6 separate regions of the Homo sapiens genome follow, and all the other regions are linked to region 1. The links are contacts of gene promoters, found by promoter capture Hi-C in human tissues and cell types (Jung and others, 2019). All regions are on one chromosome and are shown on one strand. The core of a region is centred on a gene start or on the middle of the fragment in contact, and the rest is flanking DNA. Distances in the headings are between cores, read along the strand shown. Region 1 holds the start of DMC1 (DNA meiotic recombinase 1). Region 2 holds the start of GGA1 (golgi associated, gamma adaptin ear containing, ARF binding protein 1). Region 3 holds the start of MICALL1 (MICAL like 1). Region 4 holds the start of C22orf23 (chromosome 22 open reading frame 23). Region 5 holds the start of SOX10 (SRY-box transcription factor 10). Region 6 overlaps POLR2F-AS1 (POLR2F antisense RNA 1).

Region 1 (2,545 bases), core at 33-2,532:
AAATATGGTGGTCCGGGTGTGGAGGCTCATGCCTGTAATCCCAGCACTTTGGGAGGCCGAGACAGGCAGATCACGAGGTCAGGAGTTCGAGACCAGCCTGGCCAATCCCCGTCTCTACTAAAAATACAAAAAAATTAGCCGGGCGTGGTGGTGGGCGCCCGTAATCCCACCTACTTGGGAGGCTGAGGCAGGAGAATCGCTTGAACCTGGGAGGCGGAGGTTGCACTGAGCCGAGATCATGCCACTGCACTCCAGCCTGGGCGACAGTGCGAGACTCAGTCTCAAAAAAAAAAAAAAAAATTGGTGGATCATAATATTATATTAAGGCTGATAAGCAGTTAAAGTTTTTAACATTGTAGACTCAAAAAGAAATCTCAGGAATCCACAAGGCGTGATTGTGTTTATTTATTACAATAAAATGCGGTCCAAATCATCATTTTTCTTGGTCGATTCCATTTCCTCATTTGATACCAAAGTCAGGGGTTGGACCCTAGAACAAAGGGAACGAACCATTAATACTAAGGCAGGAGCAGGGTCCTACCACCCAGCACCTCAAACGGCAAAGGATGGAAGGCAACCGAGACCGTTCGGATGGGATCTTCGGGGACACTGTCCTTCAGATGGCTAGCTATGAGTACCCCAATTCCACATTTACTGTCCCCATCGAAGAGAAAAACAGCATTCATTTCTTCTCCCCGTGATGAAATGAAAAGATTGTCCCCCATCTCTCAAGGAGCCGTTGATAGACTGAACCGTTGGATTGAAAGTAGGGCTCCCCAATCCCCCGGTTTAAGACGACCCAGCTGTCCCCTCTGGTGGGGGCAGCAGCGCGGTCGGGTCGCCCTCGACGCCTCCCTCAGCAGGAGGCCTGGGCAGACCCCCTGCGGCCGCCGGACATTTTCCTGACACCGGATTCCCTGGTCAGGAGGATGAGGCGGGCTCTCCTAGACTCAGGTCCGATTCGATTGAAAATGAGGTTGGAAATCCCTCAAGATCACTAAAATTCCTCCCCAAAGGTCGGAGCGGAACGCTCAAAGTCACTAGCCCAGGGACCCCAAAAAAGGAGCGAGAAAGGGAAGCGCGCCTTCTCAAAACGAGCGTCCCCTCAGAGTCTTCGCACGCTGTTCGTTTTTGCCACTTACCCCCCTCGTACCCACAGTCTCCCCGAGATTTTCAAGGTGAAGCCCCTCTGCCCCGCCCGACCTCCTCAGCTGACAGGATTCTAACTCGGGCCTAGAACACGGAGCCTGGAGACCCGCGCGCCGTTGACCACAGGGTTTGGCGCCAAACGAGGAGGGCGGGGCGAGGACCAAGGGGCCGGGGCGGGGCGCAGGGTGAGGGTGGAAGGGCGGGGAGGGAGCAGGCCTACAGAGGGCGACGAGGGGCGGGGAGCAATGGGGGCGGGGCGAAGACCGAAGGGCGGGGAACGAGCGGGCTCACAGGTGGGGGGACCAGAGGGCGTGGCCTGGAGGGGGCTCAGGGCGAGGGGGCGGGGCGAGGGCTGAGGCGCGGAAAACGAAGAGGAGCCCCAGCGGGTGGCGAGCTGGGATGACGGAGGGAGGGAGGGAGGGGCGCTGTGGAAGGAGCGCGCTGAGGAGCGGGGCCTTGAAGGGAGACCGTTGAGCTGGGGCGTCCCTCGAGCTGAGCACCTCGCTAAAGTCCGGGAGAAGACCCTGAGGCGGGGTTCTGAGGAGGTAGCCTTGAGTCGGGGGAGGGGCGATGAGCAGAGGTGGCTGACTTTGGCGATAGGTCTTGGTCGCGAGGGTTGCAGATGGAGCCTTGGCTTAGAAGGTCGAATCCGGGCCCGTTTCCCCCCGCCCCCGCTGCCCATGGCTTCTCTTTTCACCTCCAGGTTTTCATGCTGGCTTCAGAGTTTGGCCGTGCTCCCTCAGCGTTCCTAATTTCCCACTTTCTGACTCTCACCATTTGCCACTCTTGTCTGTGATTGAGACACCCGAGGCCCATTCAGGATGGAGAGTAATTTTTTCTCTGTCTTAACTTGAAGTTTTAAATAGACCACAGACGCCAAGTATATTTTGGTTCAGCTTTTAAATAGAAGTCGCAGGCCAGCCTTCGTGCCAGCAGCGCCATCGCTGGCAGCATCCTCCTCCTCCCCTCACGCGGAGACTGACTTGGGGAGAGTCAGGAAACATTTGAGAGAGCAGCTGCCGAGGTGGAGGCTGTGATGTATCTTGGATGAATCTCTGTGCAAACAGTTCTTTGGGTTCAAGACCTAGTACAGGGCGATCCTTTTTGTTTTTTCTGTCTGAATCATTTTGGTGGAATAAATAGCAAAACATTCCCACAATAGCAGTTGGCATTTTGTGTAGGACGCACCCCCCCAACAGGTGGATTGTTTTAAGAGCCAACAAATAACTGCCATTGTGCTTCCAAATCTGTTATTTTCCCCCAAACACAGTCGTCCTTGTTATATGGAGATGAATGCCCATTTGGGGGAGGAACTGGATAGTGGTGAAAGGCTTTCGCTCTGAGGCCTCACCTAAATAATTATGGGAACTTTTGAGCAACTCGTTAGGTGAAGACA
Region 2 (2,545 bases), core at 31-2,530, 960 kb before region 1:
GATATCTCCTGCAAATAGATATCTATTTGCAGATATCTGGGAGCCGTATTGAAATACTTCCAACTCCCTGGACTCATCCTACTTTTTTTTTTTTTTTTTTTTTTGAGACTGAGTCTCGCTATGCCGCCCAGGCTGGAGTGCAGTGACGCAATCTCGGCTCACTGCAACCTTCACCTCCCGGGTTCAAGCGATTCTTCTGCCTCAGCCTTCTAAGTAGCTGGCACTAAAGGCGCGCCCAGATAATTTTTTTTTTTTTTTTTTTTTAGTAGAGACGGGGTTTCACCGTGTTAGGATGGTTTCGATCTCCTGACCTCGTGATCCGCCCTCCTCGGCCTTCATCCTACTTTTTCTCCCTGAATATCTTTTCGCACCAGCTCTACGTGGAGAAATCCGACTGTCTTTGAGCGAAGTACAGTATCACTTTCTCTTGAAACCTCCCCTGACACGACCCCTCCCCTGACACGACCCCTCCCCTGACAACACCCCCACCCACCCCACCCCAGTTTGGGGGAGGAGCCCCCTCCTTTGTTCCCACTACCCCGTGGGCTTCCCCTATCACACTGTAATAAATATCTGGCCTTGTCTATCTCCTTCTGTGCCCATCACAGAGCAAAGCAAATACAAAGAGTTCATTAAACGTTGGCTGGATGAATGGAGGAGACGGCACAGGGTTCAAGCTCTGCTACTTGTGCGGCCTCAGGCCGACTAATTATCTGGTGGGTTTGTTGTAAGGAGTCAGAACTAAATGGATTAATTACAAATAGTGCTTAGGACAATGCCCAGAATACTGTAAGCACTCAAGAAACTGATTTATTTTCGTCATTTTCACAGCGGCCAAGGTACATGAGGATGTAGCTTATCGCCCTTTTAAGGGACTCTCCCACGTTCGACTCTAAGCGGAAGTACCCGCTCAGGGCTCCGGAAGTGGCCTCAGAGCCCCTCAGCAACATGCCCGCAGAGAATTCTTCCGGAGGCGGTCACAGACATCTCCGTGACGCAGAACGAGTTAGAGCGTCCCTTGGGGTTTCCATGGTGCTGCCCTTAGCCTGCAGTATCTCCACTTCCTCTCCCGCCTGAGCGCCGGGAACGGAAAAGCAGGCGGCCGGTCCCAGCTGCGACGTAGACGCCGCGTGGGGGTGGGGTTGGGCGAGTAGGTGACGCTCTAGGCGAGCTCGTTGGCCTCTCTATGGTGCCGAGCGCGCCCGTTCGGACGTTGCCCCTTTAATCGGCAGAGGGCGGTGCCCAGGAGGTCCCGCGAGAGCTGCGGGGGGCGGGGGGGCGGTGCCGAGGCTGGGGGCCGGTGGCGGATGGAGCCCGCGATGGAGCCGGAGACTCTGGAGGCGCGAATCAGTGAGTGTCCGGGAGGGGCGCGGGCCGGACCGGAACCGGAACCGGGGGCACGAGGCGGGCCCCTTCCCGGCGGGGGCGGGGTACGGGTCGCCCCCTCCTCACGCCCCGCCCCCGGCCCGGGAGGGGCGGTGTCCTCAGTCGGCCCCTCAGACCCTGGAGCGATGGAGGACCCCGGCCCCGGCGCGGTCCAGCGGTGGGAGCGGGCGCCGCCCACCTGTCGGATCCCTGGGCCATGACCCCTGGGACGGCGAGTGAGCTGCGCCGGGAACCCCCGGGACGGAGAGAGCAGCCTCCAACCCCCAAGGCTCACATTGCTTCACGGAGTAGCGGCCCGGGGAAGGAGCACGCGAGCGGTTCCCCGGGGTTGCATCTCACACCCGGGAGGGAGGGACCCTACTATTTTCAGGCCCCGAATCCTCCACTCTCTGGCCCTGCATGGCGTTCCTGGAGCCCGCAAGTAGTCACATTTGCTCATTACCCCGTCCTGGAAGGGAGGACCCACTGCCCCATTTGATTCCTCCCGCCGCTCCTAGTCTCTAGCCACATAGTGAGAAACCCCCGCACCCTACAGGCTTGGGAGAGTCTTAGACTCCAGAAGTATTAATAATTCCAAGCTCCCTGTCACTCCCTTCAGCCTAACCCCTCAGTCTCCAAGATGCCTTTCCCAGCTCTTGCTGAACTTCCTTCAAAGGCTTCTACACCCCTTTTTTTCTTGTTTCTCCTCAGACGTAGCTTCCTATTGCTTAGGCTTCCTAGCCCGCAAACCCTCCACCTGAGCTCCTTAACCCACAGCCCTGATGATCCCCTGCTCTCACAGCCCCGCTCCTGGACTCTGCCTCTGAAAGCCGTGGCTGGCTTCTCCCTGGTCTAGTGAGGGTTCTCTCCCAAGGCTTTAACTGCTGTTGGGACCCCGTCGTTGCCAGGGCCTCAGGGAACCCTCTTGGACCCGGGCACACCGGCAACTGTCTAGCGTGGTTTGGGGTCATGGCCGGCCCCTTTTAAGCCAGGCTTGAGCAGAGTTGAACCATGAGGTTGGCCCCAGAACCAAACCTCTAGGGATGTTTCAGAGTCATCCTAGCCACCAGAGGGGCAGGGGGTGGAAAAGGGGCACTCAGCAGCCCTTGACCGTTGTGAACGCCGGAAGTGTCCGCCTGGGTCTCAGCAGCAACTGGGCTGGGGGGATGGGTGGGCCCCT
Region 3 (2,545 bases), core at 24-2,523, 660 kb before region 1:
ACCTTGTAAAGCAGGTATTATCTCCATTTTTAAGTCGTGGAAACTGAGGTCCAGGGAGGCACAAGATCACATGACTAAGGGAGTGGGGAAAGCCAGGATTGGAGATTGGGTTAATAGGGCTCCAAAATGCCTGATCTTTCCACTCCCCTGAGTGCTCAGGGGTGATGAAGATGACTAAGACCCTGTTCCTTCCCTTGGGAGGGAGCGAAATACCCACTCCAGCTAACTATTGCATGGGTCAGGGTGACATCACCACCTCTGCAGCAGATGGAGGCTGATTCATCTGTGGGAGAGTCAGGAGGGGCCTCTGCGGAAGGGTCGGCTGGCTGGAAGGGTTGGCTGGCTGGAAGGGTCGGTTGGCTGGCGGGGGTTTTGAAGACGGCAAAGATAGAGAATGAGCCTTGGGGAGGTTCCAGGGCCAGATACAAACTGCCTGTATGCCTCCCAGGCAGGGGCCTCCTTGGCCTAGGTCCTTCCCATAGGAACTCAAACCACCACCACACTAACCATGGCTGAGGGGACCCGGCAGGCCGCAGTGGGGAGGGACGAGATCCCTGAGCTTACACAGGGGCTGAGGGGAGCTCAGTGAATCACCTAGGGGACACCTGGACCAAAGGTGGCGGAGGGGCGCATGGGTCTCCCTGCCAAGCTATGGGGGAGGGGATGGTGGACATGACAACTTCCAGCTCAGCGGTGCTTTAGGGTGGGGAGCCGGGATGAGGGAAGCTGGTGGCTATCCGGGGGGGGGTGCTCTGAGGTCTGCAGGGGAACTGCCTCCCCAAAGTTTCAAGCTAGGGGTGGAAGGGGGGATTTGCGGTCATTAGGAGCGGGAAGGAGGCCGGATGGGAGCACGAGGTGTCCCGCCTCCAAAGGGTGGAGGGCTCCCGGTGGGTGGCGCGGCGGCGGCCGCGGCGGTGAAGTCATCGTGGGGAGTGGTCCGCTTGCGGCGGGTGCGGGGGCTTCGCGGGCACCCAGTGGAGCAGCGGGAGCCCGGCGCCGTCGAGGGGCGGGCGATGGGGCGCCGGCCCGTCTTGGTAGGGGTGGGCTCCGCACTGGAGGCGGAGCTGCTGCTGGGTGGGGCGCGCCTCCGGCGCGGACGGAGGCGGCGGGACGCCCGCTCCCACGACCGGCCCACAATGAGGCGAGCGGGCAGCGCGGAGTAGGCGGCGGCCGGCCGGGCCGGGCCACGCGGCGGCGCTGCTCGGGCAGGTTAGGGCAGGGCCGCGGGGCGCCCGAGCGAGGACACCGCGGCCCCGCCTCCGCCCCTCCCCTCGCCTGCCGGTCGGCGCCCGAGCTCGGAGCCGCAGCCGCAGCCGGAAACCGGGCCCGCGCGGCGGCCGCCGTCCCGGCCAAGCCGGGGCCCCGAAGCCAGAGCCGGAGCCGGGCGGGCCGCGGGGTCATGGCTGGGCCGCGGGGCGCGCTGCTGGCCTGGTGCCGCCGCCAGTGCGAGGGCTACCGCGGCGTGGAGATCCGCGACCTGAGCAGCTCCTTCCGGGACGGCCTGGCCTTCTGCGCCATCCTGCACCGGCACCGGCCCGACCTGCTGTGAGTGCGGGGCCCCGGGCGAGCGGGCGGCGCGGGGCGGGCTGGGGCCGCGACCGCCGCCCCCCCTCAGTAACACGAAGCCCGGGCGGTGACAGGCGCCGCCCCCGGACACGGAGACGCCGACCCCCCCGACGGCCCCGGACGCCGGGCGGGTCCCTGAGACCCCGGCCCAGGGCGCCCCTCCCCCGCCCGGCCGCCCTGACCCCGCCCGTGGGATCCCGAACTCTCCCCCGAGGCTGGTCCCTCCGCGGGGACACTGGCCCCGCCCACAAAGCGCTGATTTCCGCCGAGGATCGCTGAACCCCTAAGCCCTTGACCTCTTTGAAGGGGTGTTGAGCCCTCTTTGGGGGCCCTGGGCCTCTCCTACCCTAAACTCTTCTCCACGGGCTCGCCGGGCCTCCCCTCTCCCCCGAGGCTTCCCACTCGGGGTGGCCCCTTGCTCCGGGTGTGCAGGTGAACCCCCACTTCTCTGACCCCCAAATAGGAGCTTGTCTCCGGACAGTAGCACAGTTCCCGGCACAGAGGAGACCTCGGCTAACAGGTGTTGGATGAATGGATGTACAGACCCTGTGCTTTCCCCACGCCCCCCAACTTAGGACGCAGCCCTGCCTCCCGGGTGTGTGCTCGATGGCCCTGCAGCCCTCCTCAGTGGGGCACGCAGGTGGGGCGCGCAAGAGGAGTCACAGGCCGGCAATGTTGGGAAGACTCCTAGGATCCGATTGATAGACACCAACCGGGTGCTGCAGGTTGTGAAATGGCCCCTTCCTGCCCAGAGCTGCCCAATGAGGTTCTCATGGGAAAATGCATTCAGACTCCCCGGAACAGTTGACTTGGAGCCTCTGTCTTTGCTCTCTCTGCCTTGAGCCCTGGAACCTCTCCTCCTTTCGTCCCTTCATTCCTAAAACACTGGGTGAGTTTATCTGGTGCCATTCCTTGCACTTCAGGTCTCACCTGTGAATCAGGGAGGAGAGTTCTGGTCCCTACCCCTTTCGCATGCAGC
Region 4 (2,545 bases), core at 27-2,526, 620 kb before region 1:
ACCAAATAACTGACTACAGCTTGTGCTAAGCCCAGTGAAGGAAAATGTGTGAGGGCACATAACAGTTGATCCTACTGTGGTGGTGAGGAGCAGAAGTCTTCCTCGGGAAAGTTGAAAGTGTGATCTAAAGGATGCATAGGAGTTAACTACTCTAAAAATTTTAGTTCTTTGACTTTTGGCAAGGTGTAGCACCTTGAACCTTCCCCTCCCCCCCGCCCCGCCCCGCCCCCGAATAAGGCATATGCAGTAGAATTTTGAAGCTTTCTGAACCCCAGGCTCCTTATCTGTAAAGGAAAATAGTGCTAAGCCACAGGTCAGGTACGGGGGAACTGAGTTACAGAGGGTAACTACCACCATTCTTCTCTCATCCTTTAACTCAGGGGTCCCCAACCCTCCGTCCGTGGACTGGTACCAGTCCCTGGCCTGTTAGGAACCGGGCCGCACAGCAGGAGGTGAGCGGCAGGCTAGCGAGCCTCACCGCCTCCTTTCAGGTCAGTGACGGCCTTAGATTCTCATAGGAGCGCGAACCCTATTGTGAACTGCGCACGCGAGGGATCTAGGTTGCACGCTCCTTATGAGAATCTAACTAATACCTGATGATCTGAGGTGGAACAGTTTCATCCCGAAACCATTCCCCACACCTCCGTCAGTGGAAAAATTGTCTTCCACGAAACCGGTCCCTGGTGCCAAAAAGGCTGGGATCGCTGCTTTAACGGACTGACCTCTGAGCAGCTCGCAGGTCCCCGGGGTGTAAGTGATGGTCTTGGGGCGGCGCCGGAACCCAGTTCCTTTGGTCACTACCTCCATCTGCTTCTGTGAAGCCATGGGAGGACTCTGAGGAGGGAAAGACGCAATGACACACCCCCTGTCTCCTGTCCCTAATCTCTGTTCCCCGACGCCCAACACCCCCAGAAGTCTGGAAGCGGGGATCGAGCCAGAGAATGATGCCGCCAGTTAATATTGCGACAGTGCCCAAACCTCCCATCCAGACACACAGATACACACACACAGTCCTCATTCTGACCCAGCGCCTGTGGCAGGGAAGTCTCCTCGGGAGGGAGTGTTAACACAGCCATGGTCACAACAGTACCCACTGAGTGATATGCCAAAATTGAAATTTCACCCTAAGACCCTCTCTGGGTGCTCCCCTCTCCACATAGAAGTGGGCTCCCGGAGGCGGTGACCACTGCTTTACAGCCGCATCCGCACCGGTGCCACGCAGAAATACTGCGCGATCTGGGCTGCTGGAGCTGGCAGCTAGCGCCTCTCGCTACTATAGAAACGCGCACACACCAGTCAGCGCATGCGCACTTTCCCCGCTCTGTCCTGCCTCCCGGAAGTGATTTCCTCTGGGTTACGGCGCAGGCGCAAGATAAGCTAGGAGCCGCGCGAGTCGTAGTGTCGCTGTTTGCGGGTCTCCGCGCGGGACCGGGGCGCAGCGGGGTCGCTGAGGCGAGGGTGTCATGTCAGACAACGAGGACAAGTGAGTGCGGGAGCGGAGTGGCCTTTGCGGCAACCTTGGAAGGGGCGGATGAGGCAAGGCTTGGGTCGGCTGAGGAGCCTGGCGTCTAGGGGCAATGTCTGAGGGGACTGGGGTCCTGAGGGGGCCGGCGGAGCCGAGGAAGGGAAGGGCGGGCGACCCAGGAGCACAGCCCCGGCTGGAGGCACAGGAGGGCCCAGGCTCGAGGGTCCAGAGGGGATCCGTAGAAAAGGTGTCCTTCAGCAAATGTTCCAGCGAGCCGGGCTCTGTATCATGCAGTGGGAATATTGAGGTGAATGAACAATCGTCCCTGCCTCTCCACGTGCTCACTTTCTAGAAAAGGGGTCACAGGCCCATAAGTAAGCAAGCAAGCAGGTAACGGTGGTCGCGTGAGCTTCCCCAGTTCTAGACGTATGTAGTATAGGAGTACTCCAGAGGAGGGTCTGGGGCAGCTCCACCGGGTGGCATTAAATAAAAGTCTGGGACGGTCCTTTGCAGTAATTTTTTTTTTTTTTTGAAACAGAGTCTTGCTCTGTCGCCCAGGCTGGAGTGCAGTGGCGCGATCTCGGCTCACTGCAGCCTCCACCTCCGGGGTTCAAGGGATTCTCCTGCCTCAGCCTCCCGACTAGCTGGGATTATGGGCGTGCACCACCACGCCTTGCTAATTGCTTGTAGTTTTAGTAGAGACGGGTTTCACCATGTTGGCCAGACTGGCCTCGAACTCCTGAGCTTGTGATCCACCCGCCTCGGCCTCCCAAAGTGCTGGGATCACAGGCGTGAGCCACCGTGCCCGGCCTGCTTGTAGTAATCTAGATGAGAGAAGTCAGTAGCTTATAGTAGGGTGGTAGGAGTAGAGGTGGTGAGAACTGGTTTTGAATTCTGGATATATTACTATTTTAAAGATAGAGCCCAAAAATTACCTGTGGGATATGTGGGTGCAAAGAGAGCTAGTCTGAAGATAAAAATAAGAAACGTGTGGGATTGCTACCCCATTCCCAGTGAGTGTCAGTAGAGAAGAGGAGATGACCCGTGGCTGAGCATTAGGGCATTTGGACATTGAGTGCT
Region 5 (2,545 bases), core at 13-2,512, 590 kb before region 1:
CTCGGCTACCCTGAATCCACCCGAAGCTAGAGGGCCCGAGCCCGGGGGGCGGTCGGGTGCTCACCTCCAGAGCTTGCCCAGCGTCTTGCTGAGCTCAGCGTTGTGCAGGTGCGGGTACTGGTCCGCGAGCTTCCTGCGCGCTGCCTGAGCCCACACCATGAAGGCGTTCATGGGCCGCTTGACGTGCGGCTTGCTTTTGCTGGCGCCGTTGACGCGCACGGGCATGGGCACCAGCGTCCAGTCGTAGCCGCTGAGCACCTGGCTGACGGCCTCGCGGATGCACACGGGGAACTTGTCATCGTCCGCCTCGCCGTCCTGCTGCTCCTTCTTGACCTTGCCCAGCTCGCCTGGCCCCGGGCTGGCTCGCAGGCCCGATCCGCCGCCGCCGCCGTCGGGCCCTAGCGAGGGCGCGCTCCCCGGGGACAGGCAGCGGGGCTCCTCCGAGCCCACGGGGCTCAGCTCCACCTCCGATAGGTCCTGCTCCTCCGCCATGTCGCCCCCGGCCGCCGCCGCCGCCGCCTCGGCCGCCTCCCCCGGGCCAGCCGCCGGGGTCCTCGCAAAGAGTCCAACGCCCACCTGGATGGAAGGAGGGCGCGATGGAGCGGCCGCGCGCGCAGCCCCGAGGGCGGCCCGAGACAGGACGTGGGCACAGCCCCGAGGTGGCGGCCCTTCCTGCTCCAGCTAAACCCATCTGGCCCCTGGGGCCCACGCACATGCCAGACTCTAGGTGGGTGCGTCCCGCCTCTGTGTCTTCCCACCACCTGGTCCCAACCGTCTCTTGGTGTGGGTGGCTTTTTTTTTAGCCTCCTTTTTTGGGTGGAGGTTTGTTGATGATAAGGAAGAAAAAAACGGAGCCTTTATTTTGCTCTAATCCCGGCCCCTGGAATTTCCCACCTTTTCTCTCACCTTTCCTTCTTCCCTCAGCCTGCCCCAACGGGGTTTAGAGGAGAGCCAGGTGGGGGGCAAGGGCGGGGTGTCGCCTCTCTCCACCTCACAGCAGGGTCCCAGGCCTGGGCGGGCCAGGGAGGAGCAGGCTGCGCACTCACCTCCTCGGACCTCTCCTCCAGTCTGGGGCTCGTCCTTAGGAAGTGGAAAACCGTGTCCCAAGGTGTGCGGTCCAGCTCGGGGCTGGGAGGTGACGCTGGTGGGCTGGGAGGGAGGGGCGGGGGGCCCTGAGCCTCAGGCCACGGCCTCGTTAGGACGGAGCCTGAATCCTTACCACCAACCACCCTGGCCGGACAGCCCGAGACTGACTGAGCGACTGAGCCTGAGCCGCTGCGGAGGGCTGGGGAAGGAAGGAGGGGGAGAGGGGGGAGGGGAGAGGAGGGAGGGAAGGGCAGAAGGTGGAGCCTCCAGGCTTTCCTTCATCCCCAACACTCAGGGCTCCTCCACCCGGAGCCCAGGCCCCCCCACCCAGCTCCCTGCCCTACTGCCCAGGCCCATCTTGCTGAGGCTTATCTTGGGCTTAGTCTGGGAGGTGGAGGGGAGGTTAGGCCGAGGAAGGAAGAGATGTAGGCTGGAGGGTCAGAACCTGTTGGATGGAAGAAAATTGGGCCCAACCAGGACTCCTAACGTCTGCCTCAGGTGGCAGGATGGGCACTTGGCAGGGGACTAGGGAGAGACGTGAAGGCGGTGAGGGTCCTGGGGGCCCGTGAGGGTGGCTGGCCCTAGCTGCTTCGTCTGCGAAATCCTGTTGAGTGCCTAGTGTGTGCCAGGCACTGATGCCCAGCTCCTCACCCTGCCTCCTACCTTTTCCCAGGCAGCCCTTTCTGCCCCATCCTGCACAGTAAGAGAGACTTCTCAGGGATCCCTCTGAGAAGTGCAGAGCCCCAGCTTGACCCCTGGTCCCTTCTCTGCAGACACCCAGCACACGCGCGTTCTGGTCTGGTTCAAGGTGGAAACACAAGACTAAAGCTGCCAGGAGGCCAAGGTGGGACAGGTTGGGGGCCCTCTCTCAGTAGGTCTTAGAGGCATTTTGGGTTGCTACCTACTGGGACCCAGCTCCTTCCACACTGGGCTCACCCTGTCTTGGGAGAGGGTAGGGGAGTCCTAGTCCTGATTGTCACGAAGTCCTCTACTCCCCCACCCCAACAAGGGGTGGGGACTTGCCCTGCCTCTTCCCTCCTCTGCCCACCTCTCCCTCCCTCCCCTTTTCTTTCCTGCCCATCCTCCGTTGACACCTTTTTCTCTCTCTTTCCTTGGCCTCTCCTCCAAAGGTCGCAGTGCTGTTCTCTTAACTGAGGGCAGCCCCGCCGGGGTGTTGAGGCCGAGGTGGGGTGTATGTGGGTTATGTAATGGAGCTGGGGTCGCATTGGCAACCATGTGACGTTCTGAGCTCCTCAACAGCAGGGCAAAGCCCCAAGACCACCCCAAGGGGTCCTGTCTGGAGTGGGCTGCAAAGGGTCTGGGGAGGCAAGGCCTCATGCTTGGGAAAGTCCAAAGGGGTGTAGGGGGTGGGAAATGGGACACAATGAGGTAGTCACACGAGGCAGAGGCATGTTGGGGGTGGGGGGAGCAGACACTGGAACACACACACACACACACA
Region 6 (2,545 bases), core at 33-2,532, 540 kb before region 1:
TCCTCACTTCTCTGGGATGACTTGCTTTGCAGGGTCACTCCCGGGATAAGAAGAGGTCATGCAGTGGGGAGGTGTGGGTGGGGGCAGGGTTGTGCTGGGAAGGCCTGGGGAGCGTGGTCAGTGGTTCCCCGGGGATCAGGAACAGGCCCTCTCCCACCCCACCCCCAGCTCAGTTGCTGGACAAATCCATCAGATCAGTCGGCTGTCACCAGTAGGGGGTGGGAAAGGCAGGGTCTGTGAAATGAGGGGCCCTGGGACAGGACGAGGGCTGGAAGAGCTGTGAGAGGCCCTGGGCAAGAGGTAAGGAAGCAGGCTACAGACCACCAGCACTTCAGACCCTGCCAATGGAAAGACGGGTCTTGGCAAGTGTCGGTGTCGCCCCCTCCCTCCTTGTCCCTTGGGAAACTCCTACTACTCTGTCAGGCCTCAGCTCCAGCACACCTCTTCCAAGACGCAGGGGTTAAGAGCGAGAGTTTGGGTGTCATTCCATCTGCAGGGCCCTGGACAATCTGCTTCATCTTTTTCAAACTCATCTGTAAAATGCGGACAGTAATACCACAGAGCCTGCAGGATGGTTGCAAGGATTAAATGAGATGTTCTTGGCACGGAGGAGCCTACTTCTGACAACAAGGATGCCCTCGTTCCTTGGCTACTTCTCCTACCCACGTCCCCCCACAAGGTAGACTTGGCCCTCTGAGTCCTCACCACACCACCCTCTTAGCCCAGGTAGTAATTACAGTCATGTCTGTCTCCTCCATGGAACAGTGAGCCCCTAAGTGTGGGGACTGGGTCTGATTCACCACCAGGTCCCCAGAGCCCAGTGCAGGACCTGGGCAGGCACGGACTTCACACCCTGTGCCGCTGTCCAGGTCCCCACCAGCACCAACACCCTGTCCCAGGCGCCTGATGTCACAGGTGTCCCGGCTGAGTGGCAGCTCCTCACTCAGCTTCCACTTCCTCACGTGTGACCCTGGTGACCTCCGAAGGTTGCTTCCAGCCTGAAAGTGCTGTGAGTCCATGTCTCAAACCCGCGTCACCATGCTGCCCCCAGACCAACCCCTCCCCGCTTCCCTGCCCCATCAACGGCCCCACTGTTCTCCAGTGACCCAGGCATGAAGCTTCGGAGTCATTTTTGACTCATCCATCCCCTTCATCCCCTATGGCTAGTCATCGGCCATGACAATTTTTCCTTCCAAACACATCCGTAGTCCCCTCCCCAGCATTCTAGTCCCCTCTGTCTTGGCCTCTGTTTTGGTCTGAAGTCTGGAGATTTTGTCCAGTTTCTTTTTTTTCTTTTACTTTTTTTTTGAGACAGGGTCTTGCTCCGTGGCCCAGGTTGGAGTACAATGGCGCGATCTTGGCTCACTGCAGCCTCAACCTCCTGGGCTTAAGTGATCCTCCCACTTCAGCCTTCCAAATAGCTGGAAGCCTAGGCACAAGCCACCACACCCAGCTAATTTTTAATTTTTTTGTAGAGACAGGGTCTCACTCTGTTGCCCAGGCTGGTCTTGAACTCCTGATCTCAAGCAATTCTCTCACCTTGGCCTCCCAAAGTGCCAGGGTTACAGATGTGAACCACTGCACCACACCTGGCCTGCTTTTATCCATTTTCTAACTGGCCAGTGTCCTCTCACCTTCCACCACAGCCATCTTCCCAGGAGAGCTCTGGAGTTCCACTGTTACGGTCCTCCCAAAAATGCACAGCGGGTATCTGACAGGGGAAACTGCTTCACACCCATCACCTGCCCCTGAATCCATCAGTCAGGAGCCGAGCTGCTGCCTCGAGGCTGAGTGTGCCCAGGAGAGACCGGGGTCTCTGCCCACAGTCAGGCACATAGTCCACTGAGCTCTGCTATTCCTTAGGCCCAACACTGGGCATGGGGCAGGGAAACCAGGATGCTTGAGGCATAGGCCCTGTCCACACCCTGATTGGGGACATGGATGGATGATGCCACACTGACACAGTGTGCTGTAGGAACCAACGTGGGGTGGCGGACGCCCCTCATGCTGCCTGGAATCAGGACGTGTCACAGAGGACAGACAGTCGAGCTGGGTCTTGAGGAATGAGCAGGAGTTCTGCGGAGAGGGTGCTTCAGCAAGGAAGCTGCCTGGATGCGCAGTTATGAAGGCCTGCAGGGGCAGGAGGGGTGGCCACGGTGGGAGGTGGGGAGGCCAAGCTGAGAAGGGCTCCGTGGGCCACTGGTGAGCTGCCTCTGGAATCCCTTACTGCCGTCCATAATTCATGTCCCCCACACGGAGCATGACATAATTCATGTCCCCCACATGGAGCATGACATAATTCATGACCTCCCAACCTGTGACGCAACACCTCCTTGTAAACATCAAAGCAGCCATCTGTGAGCCATCTTTGAGCCCAGGAGGTTGAGGCTGCAGTGAGTTGTGATCATGATACCGCACTCCAGCCTGGGCCCCAGAGTGAGACCCTGTCTTAAAAAAAAAAGAAAGAAAAAAGAAAATTAAAAAAAAAAGGAAGTGGACAAAATCTTGAGATTTTGCACAGAGCTGTCCTCCCTAGTTGCCCTGT

What was found. Contacts are between HindIII fragments. The study calls those that stand out against the background at their distance.
Region 2: a contact is called between the fragment with the promoter of GGA1 here and the fragment with the promoter of DMC1 in region 1, in 1 of the 25 tissues and cell types used here (lymphoblastoid cells).
Region 3: the fragment with the promoter of MICALL1 here is called in contact with the fragment with the promoter of DMC1 in region 1 in 2 of the 25 tissues and cell types used here (dorsolateral prefrontal cortex and stomach).
Region 4: the fragment with the promoter of C22orf23 here is called in contact with the fragment with the promoter of DMC1 in region 1 in 2 of the 25 tissues and cell types used here (dorsolateral prefrontal cortex and lymphoblastoid cells).
Region 5: a contact is called between the fragment with the promoter of SOX10 here and the fragment with the promoter of DMC1 in region 1, in 7 of the 25 tissues and cell types used here (IMR-90 fibroblasts, dorsolateral prefrontal cortex, lymphoblastoid cells and 4 more).
Region 6: a fragment that was not itself captured here is called in contact with the fragment with the promoter of DMC1 in region 1 in 2 of the 25 tissues and cell types used here (IMR-90 fibroblasts and dorsolateral prefrontal cortex).

The regions. Positions count from the first base shown.
Region 1 is chr22:38,568,901-38,571,445 of GRCh38, forward strand. It overlaps DMC1 (DNA meiotic recombinase 1), which reads right to left and starts at 1,283. Exons shown (of 14, transcript NM_007068.4): 1 at 1,143-1,283. It overlaps LOC105373031 (a long non-coding RNA gene), which reads left to right and starts at 1,600. Exons shown (of 2, transcript NR_134627.1): 1 at 1,600-1,694; 2 at 1,853-2,458. RefSeq lists a silencer at 1,279-1,568 and enhancers at 1,872-2,382, 1,969-2,018. The HindIII fragment of the contact is 22,042 bases long and covers 1-2,545 here.
Region 2 is chr22:37,607,554-37,610,098 of GRCh38, forward strand. GGA1 (golgi associated, gamma adaptin ear containing, ARF binding protein 1) reads left to right here and starts at 1,281. Exons shown (of 17, transcript NM_013365.5): 1 at 1,281-1,350. The coding sequence starts at 1,308. RefSeq lists enhancers at 661-740, 891-1,060, 1,665-2,286, 2,001-2,110 and a silencer at 1,221-1,670. The HindIII fragment of the contact is 29,756 bases long and covers 1-2,545 here.
Region 3 is chr22:37,905,024-37,907,568 of GRCh38, forward strand. It overlaps MICALL1 (MICAL like 1), which reads left to right and starts at 1,274. Exons shown (of 16, transcript NM_033386.4): 1 at 1,274-1,545. The coding sequence starts at 1,400. RefSeq lists enhancers at 1-780, 781-1,596, 1,597-2,412, 2,413-2,545 and silencers at 887-1,606, 1,717-1,826. The HindIII fragment of the contact is 31,369 bases long and covers 1-2,545 here.
Region 4 is chr22:37,952,325-37,954,869 of GRCh38, forward strand. C22orf23 (chromosome 22 open reading frame 23) reads right to left here and starts at 1,277. Exons shown (of 7, transcript NM_032561.5): 1 at 1,124-1,277; 2 at 723-834. The coding sequence starts at 825. It overlaps POLR2F (RNA polymerase II, I and III subunit F), which reads left to right and starts at 1,375. Exons shown (of 5, transcript NM_021974.5): 1 at 1,375-1,483. The coding sequence starts at 1,464. RefSeq lists a silencer at 1,541-1,610. The HindIII fragment of the contact is 12,825 bases long and covers 1-2,545 here.
Region 5 is chr22:37,983,293-37,985,837 of GRCh38, forward strand. SOX10 (SRY-box transcription factor 10) reads right to left here and starts at 1,263. Exons shown (of 4, transcript NM_006941.4): 1 at 1,047-1,263; 2 at 65-576. The coding sequence starts at 492. It also overlaps a transcript of POLR2F not described here. RefSeq lists enhancers at 1-369, 2,324-2,545. The HindIII fragment of the contact is 28,697 bases long and covers 1-2,545 here.
Region 6 is chr22:38,030,708-38,033,252 of GRCh38, forward strand. It overlaps POLR2F-AS1 (POLR2F antisense RNA 1), which reads right to left. Exons shown (of 2, transcript NR_199596.1): 2 at 1,465-2,448. It also overlaps a transcript of POLR2F not described here. Among named protein-coding and RNA genes, the nearest start is that of POLR2F-AS1, 2.2 kb to the right of the region's middle. RefSeq lists enhancers at 315-1,514, 2,526-2,545. The HindIII fragment of the contact is 4,209 bases long and covers 1-2,545 here.